Regions from separate parts of the Homo sapiens genome. Here all the other regions are linked to region 3. The links are contacts of gene promoters, found by promoter capture Hi-C in blood cells and fetal thymus (Javierre and others, 2016). All regions are on one chromosome and are shown on one strand. Each heading gives the region's core, a stretch centred on a gene start or on the middle of the fragment in contact. The rest is flanking DNA. Distances are from core to core; before and after follow the strand shown. Region 1 holds the start of ZXDB (zinc finger X-linked duplicated B). Region 2 has its middle 40 kb from the start of FAM156A. Region 3 holds the start of APEX2 (apurinic/apyrimidinic endodeoxyribonuclease 2).

Region 1 (4,315 bases), core at 1,692-4,191, 2.6 Mb after region 3:
TAAAATATCAGCACAATATGAATTAGAACCCCAAACTAGCTGTTGGTTGAAGTTTTTATGATGAGTTTATAATTTAAATGGAATTGAAATGGGCCAAAAGTAGCCAAGACACTTTTGAAGAAAGATGTAGAATTTACTGCCTTATCCAAATATCAGAATTGACTATGGATCTGTAGTAATTAAGACAGTGTGATATTTCAAACAAATAGGGCCGAGCACTTAATAGCGAGTATAGGAACTAGCCCACATATGGGTAGATACTTGATTTATGGCACTGTAAATCAGTTGGCAAAAGGCAGACTTTTCAATAAGTGGTTCACTGAGAAAACTGGATATTCAAACAAATAAATAAATAAATAAATAAATGGAACCCCACTCAACACAATATACAAACATCAATTGCAGGTGGATTAAGACCTGACTGTGAAGGGCAATAGCATACGTATTTTGGAAGAAAATATAGAAAACGCTTTCATGGCCCAGGGTTTCTTAAAACAGAAAAGATTTCTTAAAACAGATTTCTTAAAACAAAAACACACTAACCATCAGGAAAAGAATGATGAATTTGACTATATTATAATTAAGATCTTCTGTTCACAAAACACAGCACAAAGCAATGGGAAATACAAACAGAACAAGGGAATATTTTGGCCACAGGTATGGACTAGTATTTAAAATATTTAACAGGCTCATTAAGTCAGTAAGTACTAGATGAACAATAGAATAGAAACATGGGTTAAAAGAGGTAAATTTGAATAGGCCTTCTTCGGAGTAGACACTCCAAAAGGCTCATAAACACGAAAATGTGCTAAAGCTTACTAGTAATTTGGGTATTGCCCACCAGTAGACTGGCAAAATTTAAATTCTGGCAATACTTGGTGTGGGTGAAGATGTGGAGCAGTAGGGGCTCTCTGTGCTGCTGGTGGGATTGACAGCTTGCCCAATCACTACAGAGAACAATTTGGCATCATCTAGTAAAGCTCAGGATATCCATACCCTATGGCCCTGTGATTCTATTCTTGGATATATACCCTAGAGAGATTTTTACACATGTGTCCCATGAGAAATGTGCAAGAATGTTCATAATAATCGCTGAAAAATAGAAGCAATCCTAATGTTCATCTGCTGTAGAATGGAGTGGTATAATCATACCATAATCACTTTGCTATAAGCATATGCTGGAACGACAGTCGATGGAGACAAAGGATCTACTTACTTATAACTATTATGAACAACATGGATGAGTCTCAAGTATAATACAGAGTGAAAGAAACAAGTTATAAAAGGAAACTTGCCGTATGATTCCATTTATACAACTTCGTATCAACTCTATTGTTTACGGATGCGTACAAAAGTGATAAAGCTATAAAGGAAAGCAGTGAAATGATTATTACAAAGTCAGGGCAATGACTATATTCATATAGGAGAGTGTGGGTTGTGATTGGGAGGAGTACAGCGGCTGTATTCTGGAAGGCTGGCAGTGGTCTATTGCTTGACCTTGGTCCTGGTTACACAGGTGTCTGCTTTTGTAAAATAATCTAAACGATACAAATATGTTTTATGCACTCTTCTATACCTCAGATTTGAAAAATGCTTCCACCAGAAAAAGTAATAGAAAGAAAAGTATGTGGAGTAGACATTTTGATGAGGTTCAAATAGTTATGGATGAATAGCTTGATTTTCAAGAGACCAAGTGTCCACTGTCATTAAAAGAGGGCGAGAGAGCTGGGAGTATTTAAACAACAGGTTACACCCCGCTCCCCCACCACCACCAATCTAGTCATTACTCTAAGCTTTCTTATCTCAGATATTTCACCCTATATTTGTGTCAATTCCCAACTCAGTCGTAACGGACAAAATGAAGGATTGTCATCATCATTAATAAGATCATTAGGCACCACAGGCCCAGCAAGCCTGGGCCACCACACTTAAATGTGAACAGGTACACCAGGTTGATTGGACAAGATCGTCTGTGCCTTTTACTTGGCAGAATCCATTGCAGTGACTCAGGATTTAACCTAAACACATTTAACTGAAACTCCTGCCCAGAGACCTCCACGTGCTGGAGAAGGCAGAGTAAACTGAGGAATGAATGCCCTCATTGTGCTGTGAGAGCAGACATGAAATTTATCACAGTACAACCGATGGTGGAAGGGCAAAAGTTGGTTTAGGTTGTGCACTGTATAGGGAGAAGCCAGGAGAAGGTTGGGTTTTTTCCAGATTTCAGTGTAAATTGTTTCATCCTCCAGACTTTGAATTTCTAGGCTGAAGAGTGCTAACCTGTTTTGGCCGCATCTCTCACTCATTCTAATGTCTGTATCAGCAAGACAAAATTTGAACTATGCGGCAAATTGTACCGAAGACTTTGCTCAAGATAATTGTGAATATGGAAGTTGTCCCGCGGGGAGGTGGGAAGGGGAAGGACATTTTCAGCAGAACTGCCAGCGCTATGGTGGTTTAATGCTGACACAGAGACAGTTTTTTCTCTCAGGAATTGTCTTTCATCCATCAGTCCAGCCAGCCAGCCAGCCAGCAAATTTTAACACACAGAAAGTACGAAGCAACATATCTAACACTGGGAGGGGCTGGGGTGTGTTTATTTGGGTATATACAATGAGTCATGGATTAAAATTGCTTCCAGCGGATAGATACCTAGGTGTTCCACAGCATTACTGAACAAGCTGTCGTCATTTCCCCATTACCTCAGAAGACCCCCTTAATTACTTACTTATATTAACTGTAGAACGTATTTATGCATACCAGGCTCTACCTCTGGGCTTTCTATTCTGTTCCAGAGACCCAGTACCAGAATATTTAAATCACTGTGGCGTTAAATACGTTTTAATATCTGATAGGGCCAGTTTCTGCGCATTGCACATTTTTTTTTCCCCTTTCAGGAACGTGTTCAGGCCCGCGGCAGGGGGCGGGATCGCGCCTCCTCCTCGGCTCTGGTTCCAGCCGAGCCTCTCGGACGCAGAGATGGAAATCCCGAAGCTGCTCCCGGCTCGCGGGACACTACAGGGCGGCGGCGGCGGCGGTATCCCCGCGGGTGGCGGCCGAGTCCACCGAGGCCCTGACTCGCCGGCTGGCCAGGTCCCCACGCGCCGCCTCCTGCTGCTCCGGGGCCCCCAAGATGGCGGGCCCGGGCGGCGGCGCGAGGAGGCCAGCACGGCATCACGGGGCCCTGGCCCAAGCCTGTTGGCGCCGAGGACCGATCAACCTAGCGGCGGCGGCGGCGGCGGCGGCGACGACTTCTTCCTGGTGCTGCTTGACCCGGTGGGTGGCGACGTGGAGACCGCGGGCTCCGGTCAGGCCGCAGGGCCTGTGTTGAGGGAGGAGGCCGAGGAGGGCCCGGGGCTCCAGGGGGGCGAGAGCGGCGCGAATCCCGCGGGGCCCACTGCGCTAGGCCCCCGCTGCCTGTCCGCGGTTCCCACTCCGGCCCCGATCTCCGCCCCCGGCCCCGCCGCGGCCTTCGCGGGCACAGTCACTATCCACAACCAGGACCTGCTGTTGCGCTTTGAGAACGGCGTCCTCACCCTGGCCACGCCCCCACCACACGCCTGGGAGCCAGGGGCCGCTCCTGCCCAGCAGCCCGGGTGTCTGATCGCCCCGCAAGCTGGGTTCCCGCATGCCGCGCACCCGGGTGACTGCCCAGAGCTGCCGCCAGACCTCCTGCTAGCTGAGCCGGCCGAACCCGCGCCAGCTCCGGCGCCTGAGGAGGAGGCGGAGGGCCCGGCCGCCGCCCTGGGCCCCCGCGGACCGCTGGGCTCCGGCCCAGGCGTGGTGCTGTACTTGTGCCCCGAGGCGCAGTGCGGGCAAACCTTCGCCAAGAAGCACCAGCTGAAGGTGCACCTGCTGACGCACAGCAGCAGCCAGGGCCAGAGGCCCTTCAAATGCCCCCTGGGTGGCTGCGGCTGGACCTTCACCACCTCTTACAAGCTCAAGAGGCACCTGCAGTCGCACGACAAACTGCGGCCCTTTGGCTGCCCGGCAGAGGGCTGTGGCAAGAGCTTCACCACAGTGTACAACCTCAAGGCGCACATGAAGGGCCATGAGCAGGAGAACTCATTCAAATGCGAGGTGTGCGAGGAGAGCTTCCCCACGCAGGCCAAACTCAGCGCCCACCAGCGCAGCCACTTCGAACCGGAGAGGCCTTACCAGTGCGCGTTTTCTGGCTGCAAGAAGACATTTATCACAGTGAGTGCTCTGTTTTCCCATAACCGCGCCCATTTCAGGGAACAGGAACTGTTTTCCTGCTCTTTTCCTGGCTGCAGCAAACAATATGACAAGGCTTGTAGGCTGAAAATTCACCTGC
Region 2 (4,197 bases), core at 1,676-4,175, 2.0 Mb before region 3:
GATGAATATCTGAGAGAAGCATTCTGGGCAGAGATAAGAACCAGTGCAAAAGTGTTGAGGTGGAACTCTGCCTAGCATGTGTGAGGCACAGTGAGGAGGCCAGTGTTGCTGGAAGAGGTGGGAGATGAGCTCAGAAAGGTAATGAGGACCAGATTATACAGGACCTTCTGGGCCATGGCAAGGACTTTGACTTACTCTGAGCGAGCCATGGGAAAGTTTTTAGCAGAGAAGCTCCTATGCTTCTTTCAGAGGCCAGAGGCCCAGGTCACTCAAAGTATAGGGAAGAGCTCCTGGTTTTGCCGAGGGACTCCTCCAGCCCCTCTGCAGCCAAATATGCCTTTCCTGGACAATCCCTTAGACTCAGAAGGTATCCTCCCAACTGCTCCCCAGAAAAATCCATGTCAGAGGATGATACCCTTAGAAGAAGCTGATCAAGGGCCCTGATAGCATGAGTGAGGTCACACCTAGCCCCATGTCTGAGAGAGAAAGTAACAGACACAGAGAAGATAGAGGGAAAGAAAGAGAGTAATAGAGAGACAAGGGCAGAGAGACTACTTCTGGCAGCTGGCTGTCCCTGCTGAATTAGATCCACAGCTCCGGACCCCTATGCATGCTACTAGGTGCTGTGCCTGTGTCTGCAGAGGAAAGGAAGCCTCTCCCCAGAAACTGTGTCTAGGGACTGACTCACCTGCCCTTGGCCTGGGCCTCAGTCATGAGGGAAGACCCGCCCCACTTCCTTGACACACATTGGGACCCTCTACCCATCAGGATAAGGACACGTTCCAGTTATGGGGAGGCTCATGCTGTATACAGAATCCCCCATACCCCCTCCAGCCCTTGACTGCCGTCCTGCTGACTCTCAGTGCTGAAAAAATTCTTTTTTTTTTTTTTTTTTTTTGAGACAGAGTCTTGCTCTGTCACCCAGGCTGTAGTGCAGTGGCACAATCACGGCTCACCGCAGCCTCAACCTCCTGGGCTCAAGCAATCCTCCTACCTCAGCCTCCCAAGTAGCTGGGACTATAGGTGCACGCCACCATGCCCAGCTGATTTTTTTGTTTTGGTTTTGGTTTCTTTGAGACAGAGTTTCCCTCTGTCACCGAGGCTGAGTGCAGTGGTGTGATCTCGGCTCACTGCAACCTCCACCTCCTGGGCTCAAGCGATTCTCATGCCTCAGCCTCCCGAGTAGCTGGGATTACAGGCATGCACCACCATGCCCGGCTAATTTTTGTATTTTTAGTAGAGACAGGGTTTCGCCAGGTTGGACAGGCTGGTCTCAAACTCCTAGCCTCAAGTGATCCACCTGCCTTGGCCTCTCAAAGTGCTGGGATTACAGGCATGAGCCACCATGCCCGGCCTGATTTTTTTTTATATGTTTTGTAAAGACAGGGTTTTGCCATGTTGCCCAAGCTGGTTTTGAACTCCTGGGCTCAAGCCATCTGCCTGCCTCGGCCTCCCAAAAGTGCTGGGATTACAGGCGTGAGCCACCATGCCTGGCCTGAAAAAAATTCTTTCAAGGGGGAAGAAGAGGTAGGAATCTCTACATTTGCTGGTGGACCTCATGCCAATGGATGAATCTGTGGTATTTCCCCACTCTTTACCTCATGCCACCACTTCCACAGGTAACGTGAGGATTGCATTCTCAACATCCATTACCAAGCAGGGTGTGCGACAGAGAGACAGAGAGGCAGACCTCCCACCAGTGAGTCAGTGATGGGGCCCTTGAGGCCCTGGGCAAACCTCTTCCTTTCCCCTTTCCTTGTCATCTCCCATTGACCCCGGCTGTGCCTGAGCCTTTCCCTGTCTCCTCCAGTGAGTCCAAGTTACAGCCAGTTCCTCCCTCTTCATGAGGACTGTGTGAGCACAGGCCCTACCCTCACTTGGCTTCAGCCTCCTCATCTGCAAATGGTGAGCTCCTCATTGGCAATTTGGCAGATTGAGTTAACATGGGTTACATGGGTTTGTCACAGGGGTCGGCCCTGAGCAAGGATGGGGTTAATGTCTGCAGACATTGTCATTAGTATTTGTACCACTGGCTCCTACATGCTACACTGAGGACTTGCCCTCCCTAAGGATAAGGATCCTATGTTTTCATCTCTCTGATACCAGGGCACCTTGTTCTACCCCTGTGAGAGAAAGGACCATCCTGCCTTCCTCACAAAAATATCCTGATATATGAGCAGCTCGGAGACCTAACCTTCTGGACAAAGACCTCCCACAAAAATGTTCAAAGATCTCATGCCTTAGGACAGTGCCCACAAGCAGTTCAGAGACCTCTCACCCTAGACACCAACCACCAAACAGCTCAAAGATGCCACACCTCAGGACACAGACCCCCAACCAGCTCAGAGAATTCCTACCTCAAGGTAACAGCTCACAATAACTCAAGGACCTCACACACCAACCCACAAAGAGCTTACCAGCTACACCCTGGTACACATACCCACAAAGAATCAGCTCAGGGCTGCTGTGTGATGCTGAATCTCTGTGCCATCCAACACTGTTATGGGGAGGCCTTGGATCTTGTAGTTCCCCACAGTCTGCAGTCACCACCGTTGTTGTCATGAGGAAGGCAGGTTCACACCAGGGATGGGGAAGGACCCTCTGGGACTGAGGGGATCAGAGAGTAAGCTCTCATATCTGGCTCCCAGGAATGGCCATCGTCTGACCAACCCTGATCACCTTTGGTCCTGGTGACTTTTGTATCTTGCCCCATGGGGGCTTCAGGGTAAATCCCAGAACACAGTAGGAGACCCCTAGACCCCGTTATCTTTGCCATCTCTCAGCACCCACTGTGGGGAACTGGATCTTGGAGAGAGAGTAGAGGTCCTCCCTTCACACTGCCAATGGCAACCCCCATTATGGCCCTTCTGAGCATTCTGGTCCTTTCTCCCAAACTTCCTCTCCAATTGGCAGCTGCCACACCTCCTCTCTCTCCCCAGCTCCCCACCCTTGTGAGCCACCAGGGCTCCCCTTCCACCACGGACCTCTACCTCCCTACCCCAGCCCTAGTCATGGGGCCTCAGTTATACCCTCTCACGCCCACTTCGGTCCTCTCACCCGGCACCTAGGCCTACCTCAGAGGACCCCCTCAGGACCCTCCCTGCACTTCCTGAAAGTGCAGACCATTTTGCAGGACAGATATCTCTCCTGCCCCCACACAGGTTTCTGTCACAACATCCCTGTTAGGGCAGAACTGGAAATGTCTCCCAGATCCAGATGAAACTCCAGACCCAGACTGAGAGTCCAGGGCAATTCGCCTAGGGCTGGAGGGGGCGGGGTGGGATTCCTGAAGGAGGCGCTGGGGTGAGTGTCACCTCAGGAGATGGGAGGACACTGCCCAGCTGGGTCTGTGAGGACAGAGAAGGGACCCTGGGAGGGACAGGGGCAGCATGAGCGCTGGGAGTGTCCCAACTGCGGTCCTCCGGGAATTGTCATCTGGCCCCAGCTCTGCCCCACCCTGGTTGGAGGGCCCCAGCCAGGGATCTGCCTTCTTGGCGCTCCAGTGTCCTCATCAGCGACAGAGGTGACAGGGCTTTCTTCCAAAGGTGCTAGTGGGGATTAAATGAGATGGCACATAAGAAAGAAGTGCTTGGGACACTGCAAGTCAGATCTGTGATGACCTAAAACTTAGAGCCCTGCGCACTGAGCGCCAGATGACCCCTTGCGAGTGGTCTCACTTAAGCCCTGCCTGTGACTTGGGAAGCATCTTTAGCCTCATACTGAACAACAGTCCAAGTCTTGAAGACTGGATCCCACTGGTCATCCAGTCCTTAAAGCCCAGGCTCCGCTTTACGAACTTCCGCCCATCAGCCACTGTGCCTGACCGTGCGCGAGCGCGAAGACCCAGGGACCCGGCTCTACGAGTGCATCCCGCTGTACTCTGTAAGAGCCGCACTCTCTAGGTGAGCTTCCCAGAGCGGTCCTTGATGCCTTCCTGCCTTGATCGTCCCACAACCGATCGACTGCCCCTTTGCAGGTTCCTAATTTATTCAGATCTGTAGAACGGAGACGGGCGTGGCCAAAAATGGGACTAGAGGGGTCTCCGAGAAGTCGGAGAATGGGTGTCAGCTTGGGCCTGGGTGGAAACCAGGAGGACGGATTGCCGCCTGGGGCGCTCGCCGCCGCGCCCGCCCTACTGTCGAAAGGTGGGGCTGATTTCGTTGGTGGGCGGGGGTGGGCTTTATTGTCCCTCCACAC
Region 3 (4,144 bases), core at 1,172-3,671:
TCTGCCTTTCCACTCTTCTTGATCGTGACAGCCCTCTGAGGAACGTTGGCTAGAGACTTTGATTTCCATTTTACTGAGGAAGCTACTGATGCCCAGAGAAGCAAGAGAGCTTGTTCAAAGCGCCACAGCAAATCAACCCTACTTTACACATCAGTGGGGAGGTAAGAGCTATAATCTCAATCACTCAGTTCATTCAAAACCAGACTTGACCAAGTTAGAGAGACTTTCACAGGTGCTAGTGAATTGCCCTGGGGGCCAGTGTCCCATAAAGGCCAGAATGGACTTTTAAAAATATACAGACAGATAAATAGGTTACATATAGATATAATCTTTTCCCCCACTTTCCCATGCCCTTTAATGCACACGACAACCAACCATCTATGCAAAGAAAACTTTCCAGAGGGCCTGAAGAATGGATGTGGATTTGTGCAACTCCTGCCTACTTTCCCTTCTTTCTCACCTACCTTTTATTCTAGAGGTTTTTTCTTCCATCGCTAATTATCCAACACTCGGTTCTCTTGCATTTACAGACCCCCAAGGCAGGTCCAGTGGGTGGCATCAAAGAGGAAGCCTGGAGGTGTTCGTTGGTTCCCTGAGAAGGCTGAGGACGTACCCTTGTTAAGTGGGGGATGTATGTGCTCTGTTGAAATATCAGCTGTTGTAGTTGCCAAAGACGTTCCTGAGCCACCAGAAGCCTTTTCTCTTCAGTCCAACCATGTGTTCACCTTGCCCCAAAGGTCAGAACTAATATTAACAAGCCACTGCAGAATGGGGAAATTAAAACCAGCCATGGAGACAGGCAAGTTCTGGATTTCGCTGGTGCTGAGTTTCAGATCGATCTTCAGTGTAAATGGGCATAATCCCTTACTGGAAAGCAATCTGGCAATATGAAGCAAGAGCAATAAAAATGTTCATTTCCTTTGTCCTAGTTATCGCACTCATGGGAGTCAATCCTGAGTCAATAACTCCCAAAGCATGAAGAAGCTCAGGACATGCAAATTTTTATTTTAATCACAGAGCTATTTTCTGATAGCAACAACTGGTAACCTTTTAAGTCCTCCAGGAGGAAAAGCAGTTTACTGCGTCTTTGCTGTAACCATTGAGGATGATGGCTCTAAGACTTAAATTCTGGGGAACAAATAATTATGCTGCAATTCTGGGTGAGGAACCTAAAGATGCATCGTTATGCTTTTCCCTGGACATTGGGCATATCCATTACTTCTAATTTTTGTGCTCTCAAAAACAAGCCATGAACCTGTCGATGCTCTTGCTATTATCCTTTGTTCATTCATTCACCTGACAAATATCTATTGCTTCCCAACATATGCTGTGTCCAGTATTAGGGGATGGGGCTAACAAGATGAACCAGACATGGTCATTGCTCTCAAGTTGCTGGCATTCTAATGGCAGCAGAAATAGAAGTCAATGATAGCTGTGTATTATAAGTACTGTGACAGAATGGACCATAGGGTGCCGTGGGGCCCCAGAGGAAAAGACTTAACTGGGGAGGTGTGTGGTCAGTAAAAACACTCAGAAAAGTAATTATTGAGCTAATTAAGACAGGGTGTGAATCCTGGCTCTACTACTTCAGTGTAAGAGAGAGTGAACTGTGAGAATGAAATGAATTCATTCGACGTCTCTAACTTAGCCTCCATGTCCCGAACTGGGTTGTCTTGAGAATGAAATGAGATAACATATACAGAAGAGCCATGGATGCATCCGGAGACAATGCTGCTCACGAGCTTACATTTCCTGGGCTTCGATTTCACTTATCTGAGAAACAGAACCAAGAGTAAGGATGTGTCCGGCTACATCCTTCAGAATGTTAAGAGCCAAGACAAAAGCTACAGGGCAGGCTTGAGACAGCCTCCTCCTCCTCCCCTCTGCCCCAATAAAGCCAAAGGCCCTCCTCCTAAGTCTTATCTCAGTGGAGCGACTCTTACTGCTCCCTCCTCCAACCATGAACTTCCCTTTGCCCAGTCCAACGCGAGCACTTAGCGCCAGCTATTCCTGGGGCGCAAGCGCTGCAGCCATCTGTGAACTTAGGTGGGCGGTCCGCCGCACTGAGGGCGGGGCTTTGGCAGCTGAGCAGTTCCGCTCAGGGTTCCGTCGCTTAAAAAGTGGCAAAATGCCGTTTGTAAGTAACCGGACGCACCACTTGGACTTCTGAGTAGAGGAAAAACGCATTGAGACTCAGCTGTCCGAGCGGAAGGAGCGGGAGCCCAACTGGAAACTCCTCTCGCCATTCATTGCCCCTAGGCTTCCGCTTTGCTTCCTTCAGCGTCCACCCAGTTCCTCCTCCCGCCAATGAGAGCTGAGGAAGTTGAAGCCCCCGCCCGACGTGCGTCAGGCGCTTTAGTGGTACGCACGAGAACGCCTGCGCAAACGCGCGCGGGAGGCGGGCCTGGCCAACTTCTGAACAGGAAGCAGTTCGCTCGCGCCTAGGTTGGCGCGGGCTGGGAGGTGTTCCAGCCCTTTAAGATGTTGCGCGTGGTGAGCTGGAACATCAATGGGATTCGGAGACCCCTGCAAGGGGTGGCAAATCAGGAACCCAGCAACTGTGCCGCCGTGGCCGTGGGGCGCATTTTGGACGAGCTGGATGCGGATATCGTCTGTCTCCAGGAAACCAAAGTGACCAGTGAGCGCTCTGGATTCCAGGATCCCTACATACTTTTTCTTTCCCGCTAACTTTTGTCCCCTGTCCCATGTAATTTTACTTTCCCAGTTTCCTATTCTTAGAGTCCTGTCCTTAGACCCAGGTCCCTTCCCTCTTAAACTTCCATTTCCCACCCTAGCTAGATCCCCTAATTGCACTCCATCTCCTGTCTTCAGCAAACTTTAGCTCCTTCTCGAAACCCCATATCTAGTCAGATTCCCACTCATTCTCCGGCCCCAAACTCAGTCCCCTGAATTTCCTCCTTCCATACGCTGTCCATCTCCCCGCCGCCAAGTCAAACCCCCGAATTCTTCATCCCTGCCCCAAGCTCAGATCCTCTAATTCCCACCCCATCTTTGACCCCAGCTCAGTCTAATTTCCTCTTTTTCACATTTCCACCTCAGAACCCCAGTACCCCTTATCTATTCCCATCTCTCCTCCCAGCGGAAAGTCCCTAATTCCCACCTCATTTCCCACCCCAAGCTTAGATGTCCTCTTATTTCTTCACCCTCTTATCTCCCCTCAGAATCCCCTAATTCCTTTTCCCTCCACCCCCAGTTCAGATCCCCTAATTCCCTCTCTCTTACCTCTCACCCTTAGCTCAGATTCCCACCATCCTCTCGTATGTCCATCCCCATCCCCAGCTTCCTCCTATCGTTCAGACCCCCAGGCTTAGCTCTGATTCTTTCCCCTTCCCACCTAATTCTCCACCTCCACTTCATAGTCTCTAACCGCCCCCCACCAAGCCTTCTAATTCTGATATCAATTTCCTCTCTGACATTTCCCATCTTTCTAGGTCCTCCTCTAATCATGGATATTTCATTCCCGTCACCCCCAACTCTGGCTCTGATGTGTGCAAGGAATTAGCCTACAACTGTAATTCCAGGCCTTTGTGTTTCTCGGATGCTAGTTTTACCTCTGACTTAATCTTACATTTTTTTTTTCCAGGGGATGCACTGACAGAGCCCCTGGCTATCGTTGAGGGTTATAACTCCTATTTCAGCTTCAGCCGCAACCGTAGCGGCTATTCTGGTAAATGGGGCTTTCTGTGGACTTTAAATTAGTGAGGGAGGCAGATAGGGGAAAAGGGTTTCCAATATTTGATGAGAGGGTAATAAGAAATCTTAGACATTTAGTTTACAGAGCTAAAGCTGCATAATAGTAAATTACATGAAATATAATTTTTATGGATAGAATTATCCTACTGGACCTCAGAAGTACAGTAGTAGTGTGGTGCTTAATTGTGTGAACTGTGGAGCCAGACAGCCTGGGTTTGAATCATGGCTCATTTCCTAGCTGTGCACCCTCTGGCAAGTTACATTACCTCTTGGTGCCTCAGGTTCCTCAGCTAGAAAATGAGGATAATGTTTACCTTCCGGGGCTGTTACAAGGATTAAATGAATTAATCCATGTGATAATAATAATTGCTAATACGTCTTGAGCACTCACCATGTATCAATGTAAAACACTTAGAACATTCTGTGGCTT

The links. Contacts are between HindIII fragments. The CHiCAGO score rates a contact against its expected background, and 5 or more counts as called.
Region 1: a contact is called between the fragment with the promoter of ZXDB here and the fragment with the promoter of APEX2 in region 3, in 2 of 17 cell types (total B cells and M0 macrophages). The highest score is 9.4, in total B cells.
Region 2: a contact is called between a fragment that was not itself captured here and the fragment with the promoter of APEX2 in region 3, in 8 of 17 cell types (fetal thymus, monocytes, total B cells and 5 more). The highest score is 11.0, in fetal thymus.

Annotation. Positions count from the first base shown.
Region 1 is chrX:57,589,070-57,593,384 of GRCh38, forward strand. ZXDB (zinc finger X-linked duplicated B) reads left to right here and starts at 2,942. Exons shown (of 1, transcript NM_007157.4): 1 at 2,942-4,315. The coding sequence starts at 2,980. RefSeq lists silencers at 3,280-3,569, 3,630-3,819. The HindIII fragment of the contact is 4,972 bases long and covers 1,792-4,315 here.
Region 2 is chrX:52,996,745-53,000,941 of GRCh38, forward strand. No RefSeq gene overlaps it. Among named protein-coding and RNA genes, the nearest start is that of FAM156A, 40 kb to the left of the region's middle. The HindIII fragment of the contact is 8,235 bases long and covers 1-4,197 here.
Region 3 is chrX:54,997,942-55,002,085 of GRCh38, forward strand. It overlaps APEX2 (apurinic/apyrimidinic endodeoxyribonuclease 2), which reads left to right and starts at 2,422. Exons shown (of 6, transcript NM_014481.4): 1 at 2,422-2,638; 2 at 3,605-3,688. The coding sequence starts at 2,482. It also overlaps a transcript of PFKFB1 not described here. RefSeq lists a silencer at 2,303-2,442. The HindIII fragment of the contact is 4,396 bases long and covers 1-3,137 here.